Regions from separate parts of the Homo sapiens genome. Here region 2 is linked to region 1. The links are contacts of gene promoters, found by promoter capture Hi-C in blood cells and fetal thymus (Javierre and others, 2016). All regions are on one chromosome and are shown on one strand. Each heading gives the region's core, a stretch centred on a gene start or on the middle of the fragment in contact. The rest is flanking DNA. Distances are from core to core; before and after follow the strand shown. Region 1 holds the start of ZNF783 (zinc finger protein 783). Region 2 overlaps RHEB (Ras homolog, mTORC1 binding).

Region 1 (3,656 bases), core at 80-2,579:
CCCTTTCTGTTTGCATTGGACCTTAACTGTTATTCTATAACGTCACCATTTACTGGTATTTTATAATCCTGAATAGATTGGACTGATCCCTGATAAGATCCTAGGGATGCTCTTAATGTCTTTAGTGCATACTTGCAGTTTGTGTTTTAGATTGGGATAGTTCAACAAGAATTTCCAAAATGAATAATGCCAAATATTTATTTGATTTGTTACCTTAAAGTAACACGTCCTAACCTTTCCGCAAATTTTGGGGTTCACCTTACTTAGGATATCAGTTTGTGTTTTTTCTGATAGTTGACCACGCTTTTGCTTGGCTCAAATATTTGTGAAAATAACTTCTCACCCTCACCCCCCCCCCCCAAAAAAGAAAAAACAAAACCAAAACCAAAAAACCCCAAACAAACCCAAACACAGAAAGAAACAAAACTGCAGATTTCTAGCGGGAAGAGTTTGCCAGCTTGTTGGACAAAGACTGTGAGATGAATGGGAAATGCAGAAAAGACAGAAAACAAAGCTTCAACTGCATACAGCACATTTAGTTCAATATGCCTCAGCACAGGCCGAGGAAAATGGGTCCTGCGGTTTATTCAAGATGCCTCAGGGCCTAAATGAGGGATGGACTGATTCACACTTGCTGTGATCTCAGCCTGGACCAAAGCTACAGAAGGGTCCTCGTGGGTGGCTGAGGACTTTCACCAGGCGGGCCCCGGGAGGAGGAAGGGACCCCAGAGTCCTCAGGAGGGGAGGGCAGGCTTAGGAAAAAAAAAAAAAAAATCCTACCATCTTCACGTTTGTTCTGTCAAATTTAAAAGAGACTTTAAAAACGTTCATGTAAGTTTCCCTGGCTTCTCCCTGGGTACACACGTATCCTTTTTACTTTCCCCAACTCAGTTCTGTGGTGCGTGGGAGGCGCTGCAACAGAGTCTCGGTCCGGACTGGAGCCCCGGCGAGGGCCGACCCCGTTCCCCACGCAGCTTTCCCTCGCGAGGTTTCGCACTTTCCAGCGCGGTTCCTTCCCGCAGCCCTCCCGGCTCCCGCGTGGGACGCAGAGAGAGGTTGGGCGCCGCGCTGGCCCGGGAGTGGCTTACGCCTGACGTAGCCCCGCTGGAGGCCGTGGCACGCCCGCCCTGGCGTCAACTCCCGCGCCCCGGGTGAGGGTGGGTGGCCGCGCCTGGGTCCCGGACGCCGCGGGCGCTGAAGGCCTCGGGAGGGCGCGGGGCGGCGGCCGCGGGCGTGCGGTCCTACGGGCTGCAGGGGGCGCTGTGCGCGTCCTCAAGCTCGGCCGCCGAGCGCAGCTCTTTTTTAAAGGGCCAGCGGGGCACGTGGCTCGGGACGCAGTTCGCTGCCGCCCGGCAGTAGCTCTCAGGTTAGGCGGGTCCCGCTCCGCTTCCGCCGTCGCTGCCGCGCCGCCCCGGGCCCGACAGGCCGGGTCCAGGGACTGCAACCCAGCGAGGGACGCGGGCAGCCATGGCCGAAGCGGCGCCTGCCCGGGTAAGCGCCCTCGGCCCCGCGGACGCCCGGAAGGCCCAGGCCGCCGCCGCGTGAGCCCGCGCGAGGGACTCTGGCCGCGCGAGGCCGCGGGGTGAGAGGGCCTTGCGCGCAGCCTCCGCGCTCGTTGCCCCCGGCCCATCGCCCAGCCCGCGTCGAAGGCATTGACCGGGCGGCCCAAATGCCAGGCCCGGCGGGCGGGGCCCCGACGTCAGCGGCTGACGATCCGGCCCATCTGCGGCCTCAGCCAGGCCGGGCCCCAGAGTCACGCTCGGCGACGAGGAGGCCGCGCCTTAGGAGTATTGTCCCATTTGAGGCCTCGCGGCCCCCCCTACAGCAGGCTGGGCGGGCAGGGGCCGCCAGCCCCACGGGACAGTAGCGGAGGCTGAGATGGGAAGGGACAGGCCCAGGGTCACGCATCTATTAGAGGCGGGAGCCTCACGCCGGGGCAGGGATTTTGGAATTAGACACTTTAAAACGCCTCATATTCTACTTTTGCCAAAGAGAAAGATTGTGTCGTTTACAAGAGAGATAGTAGATTTTTTTAAAAAAGATTACTGTAGCAGATTTTATTTAATTTTTTTTTTTGAGAGGGAGTCTCGCTCTGTTGCGCATGCTGGATGGAGTGCAGTGGCACGATCTCGGCTCACTGCAAGCTCCGCCTCCCGGCTTCAAGGGATTCTCCTGCCTCAGCCTCCCAAGTAGCTGGGACTACAGGCGCCTGCTACCACGCCTGGCTAATTTTTCTATTTTTGGTAGAGACTGGGTTTCACTATGTTGGCCAGGCTGGTCTCGAACCCCTGACCTCGTGATCTGCCCGCCCCGGCCTCCCAAAGTGCTGGGATTACAGACGAGAGCTACCGCGCCCGGCCATTTTAAAATTTTTTAATTAAAAAAGTATATATATATACGTGTGTGTGTGTGTGTGTGTGTGTGTGTGTGTGTGTGTGTATATATATATATATATATATTTTTTTTTTAGACACAGTCTCACTCTCACCCAGGGTGGAGTGTAGTGGCGGGATCTCATCTCACTGCAACCTCTGCCTCTGCCTCCCGGGTTCAAGGTATTCTCCTGCCTCAGCCTCCCAATCCCAAGTAGCTGGGATTACAGGCGCAGGTGCCTGTCTCATTTATATCTATCTATCTATCTGTCCAGATACATATCTATATGAATAAGTTTATTCATAAGAATACACTATAAGTATTCCTATACAGAATTTTTCTCCTGGAGAAGGAAGAATCACATCAGTTTTTTTGGCATCTTCATCTATATAAGTTAGGCCAGTTTAGCAGATTTTAGAATCTTGGTTTGATATAGTGCAGTATGTCCAATTGGGAGATTATAATCCTTTGGCCATTTTTGACATACTGGAAAACGCTTGTAAAGGCTCAATAGATGATACCTACTATTATTAATACACCTCAGTGAAGGTTTTGAAACCTTGATTTTTCTGGATACTTTTATTAAAGTATAACTTCCTCTCCCTCCTCTTAGTGAGTGTGCTGAGCTTCTTTTTGGGTTCCCTGAGTGCAAGGGAGAGAAAAAGCGTTGAGGATTCTGCAGGTTTATAGTCCTGTTCCCTGGGAAGAGGGGGCCCTAGAAGGTGACATCATCCACTCCCCCTAGCCTGGGGCTCACTGCTTCACTACCTTTCAGATCACTCCTGTCCACCTGCTCCTCCCTTCTTGCAGCACTTGAGATCCCAAAAAACTCCCCAAAAGGGACAGATTTGCCCTGGACTCTTGTTAGCCCATCCTATCACACTGTTGTTGTTTATAAGTATTCCTATACAGAATTTTTCTCCTGGAGAAGGAAGAACCACATCAGTTTTTTCTTCATCTTCACTGTACATTTACTATGATAGGTGTTCAGTAATTGTTATTGAATGAATGAAGCAATTATAGATTACTAGTGCTAAGGGGGAGGGGCAGTGAAAATCTCTAGGATGCGTTGTCTATGCTAGAATCTTAAAAACGAGAGAGACTCAGGCATACAGAGGATGCATATTGAGAGCTGATGTGAAGTTGGAGGAGGGCCGGGTGGGTCCTCGGAATCCACAGGAGGCTGGCATGGCTGGAGCACGACAGGAACTGGATGGCTCAAGGTCAAGAGAGGTCGGCTGGGCCATGAAGAAGTCTAGATCTTATGCCAGGTACACTGGGAA
Region 2 (3,745 bases), core at 720-3,219, 2.3 Mb after region 1:
GTAAAAGACGCCAGCCCCAGAAGACCACATATGTATGTTCTTATTTATATGAAATGTCCAGAGTAAGTAAATTCATAGAAACAGAAAGATTAGTGGTTGCCAGGGGCTGACAGGGAAGCAGGATGGAGAGTGACTGCTAATGAGTACAGAGTTTCTTTTTGGGGTGATGAAGTACAGAGAGATATAACCCATATGGACAGCAAAATAACATTTGGCACTGGAAAGCCATAATCAGAAATCTGAATTCTGATTATGCTCTTGTGCAGAACAATGAATGAGACTGAAAAACAGTAATTTCAAGTTTCAATACAAAGTGGGCACTTCAGGACTACCCCCACCCACAAGTATACAACATCAGAATATTAAGCACCTGAATATACAATTTCACATACTGGTAGATGTCATACATAGCAAATATTGTTTTGCCTTTCAATTTTTCAATAAAAAGTGTCAACAAATGATAGGTTAACTTAAAAAATAAACAGTAAGTCAGAATCTGCTGGGAACAACCAAATATTTAATGACATCTTTCCTCATGAAGACTCTAAATACTACCTAAACATTTTGACAAAGTAATAATTTGAGTACTTTTGCTGAATTGCCTTCTTCCAAACCACAAAGCTGTTTCATTTTCCCCCTATGATCTTTCACATGCCTGTGATCCCATCCCTCTTATTAACTGTATGTAAGAGGCTTATATATGACAACCAGCTTTTAATTATGGTCTAATGGTAAACTAGGTTACCAAAGCTCTCTGTACAGGTAAAATCCCAGTGAAAGATGTACCAGGCTGAAGACAGTTTACGTAACACTACCATTTTAAGTTGAGTTACTTCCTATCGCGGGACTACTCCGTTGTGGTAGAAATAACGGAATGTCAGGGAGCTGGTACTTTTGGCCATCACGGCAACAGTTAATACAAAGCACTCCCTGAAAGCCAGACTCCCAGAGTTATAGGTGACGTGTCCTTAAAAGCTTTAACATTGTAAATACCAGGAAAAGTACAGGGGACTGGCAGGGAGAATTGTATAGACTACCTGAGAATTATATTTTACCTATTGGTAGTTCTGACAACACTCAAAAAAAAAGAAAAAAAGAAAACGGAAAGCCAAGTAGTGGGCTGGGTGCAGTGACTCATGCCTGTAATCCCAGCACTTAGGGAGGCCGAGGCAGGTGGATCACGAGGTCAGGAGTTCAAGACCATCCTGGCCAAGATGGTGAAACCCAGTCTCTACTAAAAATACAAAAATTAGCTGGGCGGGGTGGCAGGCGCCTGTTATCCCAGCTACTTGGGAGGCTGAGGCAGGAGAATCGGTTGAACCTGGGCAGCAGAGGTTGCAGTGAGCCCAGATCCCGCCACTGCACTCCAGCCTGGGTGATAGAGTGAGACTCTGTCACAAAAAAAAAAAAAAAAAAAAAAGAAAGCCAACTAGTTAAACAAACATAGCACTTTTTTGTTTTATCTGAAGACAACTTTAAAAATAAAGTTTGTGGCATGACAAATCACAATGACAAGTATCCTACTAGTCAAACTGGCTTAATGTATTTAATCAAGAGAACATTCTAAGAAAGGTGTGGAGGCTTTTTATGTGGCTCTACCCCCAGAATATAGGACAAACAGCTCAGCATCACAAAATACCACAATCTAGAAACACAGGTACTCAAATTTCTCTGGTACAGCACCACCATTTGCAAGCAAACATGCCAGTAAGCTCCCAGAAGTGAGCATGCTGAGTAATTCTCAAAAGGGTGGCTTACTAGAAGAAACCTGCTGGCAAAACCTAATCTCCTTCCCCTAAAAAAGACCCCACATACTACAAAATATCCTGGCTCATAATACACTTTAAAATCAAATGCGGCTGGGCATGGTGGCTCACGCCTATAATCCCAGCACTTTGGGAGGCCAAGGTGGGAGGACCACCTGAGGTCAGGCGTTTGAGACAAGCCTGACGTTTGGCCAAGTGGTGAAACCCGTCTCTACTAAAAATACAAAATTAGCCGGGCATAGTGGTGCACGCCTGTAGTGCCAGCTACTCTGGAGGCTGAGGCAGGAGAATCGCTTGAGTCCGGGGCGTGGAGGATGCAGTGAGCCGAGATCGCGCCATTGCACTCCAGCCTGGGTCACAAGAGCGAAACTCCGTCTCGGAAAAAAAAAAAAAAAAAAATCAAATACAAGATTGGGAGCAACTTAACCTCTCCAAAATCGTTTAATATGACTACGCTTGAAAATAAATATGGAGAAGTGGGGTAGGTTGCAGAAATATGAAATACTGAAGACAGAAAATAGGGACTAAAAGTGACCCTGTATCCCACCGGAGACTAAGTTAGCACAGTATTTAACAAGCAACAGTTTGTGAGGACAAGGCTAAGGGGTGGCCTGTCACATCTCCGTCCTCAGGAGGACGCTGAATAGAGGGAAGATAAAACAGAATGGATTTCAACTGGACATAAGGAACTTCTGTAGCCAAAAAAAAAAAAAAAAAAGTGATAAAACTAGCCCTGCTCACCAAAGACTAGAGCTACCATTTCGACATTTGAAAAGGGTAAATCAGTCAAGATCTTTAGGTCATTCTCTTGGGTTGAAATCAGGTAGCCGAGGTACTTGTTGCCTATAACGTGATTATTCAGGGACTACTATTTCCAAATAGTTGCCAATAAGTACTTACTTGACTGACTAGGGAAGGCTCACCCAAGAGCCAGAACACCTCGCGGTCCCAACTCCTCAAAATGCAGAGGAGGAAATCAAGAGAACAGAGACAAGAGCATGGATTCAGGCTGCCAATAAAGGCTGGATCCCAGGTTCCATGTTGATATTTGAACAATTAGTGACTTTGAACCCCTCCATTTGATTCATGGTTACTTCCTGGCTGCAGCTGTTAAAGCTGCCACCTATGCATCCCCTCGGATTCAGCACCGCATCGCACAAGAGTTCCCCTACGACTCTAGGCACCCCGCATCTCTAGCCAAGCTTCTTTCAGCCCTTAATTTCCCCCCGGCTCTCGACGGAGAGGTGGTAAAAGGATGAGTAAGCATGCAGTGGCTGATCTTGGTCAAAGAGCACAGACCCTGGCACAGGCGGTGGAAAGCGCAGTTGGGGAGTGCATCCAGTGAGCGGCAGGCAGGTACAAGCTTCCCATGACAGATAGTCACCCCGTTCCGCAATCACGGGAGCCTCGGAACCCTCGCTTTCACCTCCCCATCCCCTCAACTGTGGCCCGGTGCACGCCTTCTATAGACAGTTACTTCAAAACAGCCCGAAAAGATGAACTAATTTCTCCAGGCTTCCGGATGTCGGGAGACAATACAGCCTCACCCTGAAGCGTGTCTAAGTTCAATCGCTCTGGTTTCACACAGGCCAGAAAACCGCTCGTTCTGTAACACCCCGTCCGCCCCCCAACCCGACCCTAAGCCACCTTATTCAGCAATAAGGCGACTGCTAGGAACTGTTTCAAATGTATGTCAACCTTTTGGGGGAAGAAAAAGAAAACAAAAAGACTTTGGAATTACTTCAACAGCCTGGTTGCAAGTACCTGACCTTATTCCTTCCCGAACAAAAATAGGGCACCGAGAGATCAGACATTCCTTTTTCTCTGTCTTCCTACCCAGGCCGCCAGCAGCATCTCGAGGGCCTCCAGAGGGACCTCTTTTGGGGGATCGCCTAGGTTTCCTATGCAGAAAACTTGCGTTCAGTGCCCAAACGTCCTCTAAATCCCTAGTTTTCTTTACAAGGGTAAACTTCACCACA

The links. Contacts are between HindIII fragments. The CHiCAGO score rates a contact against its expected background, and 5 or more counts as called.
Region 2: a fragment that was not itself captured here is called in contact with the fragment with the promoter of ZNF783 in region 1 in 1 of 17 cell types (naive CD8 T cells); the score reaches 9.3 in naive CD8 T cells.

Annotation. Positions count from the first base shown.
Region 1 is chr7:149,260,867-149,264,522 of GRCh38, forward strand. ZNF783 (zinc finger protein 783) reads left to right here and starts at 1,330. Exons shown (of 6, transcript NM_001195220.2): 1 at 1,330-1,491. The coding sequence starts at 1,468. It overlaps LOC124901769 (a long non-coding RNA gene), which reads right to left and starts at 1,475. Exons shown (of 2, transcript XR_007060582.1): 1 at 781-1,475. RefSeq lists a silencer at 928-1,797. The HindIII fragment of the contact is 3,928 bases long and covers 513-3,656 here.
Region 2 is chr7:151,515,225-151,518,969 of GRCh38, forward strand. The region is part of intron 1 of RHEB (Ras homolog, mTORC1 binding); the gene reads right to left. Among named protein-coding and RNA genes, the nearest start is that of RHEB, 2.8 kb to the right of the region's middle. RefSeq lists an enhancer at 2,802-2,851. The HindIII fragment of the contact is 1,993 bases long and covers 974-2,966 here.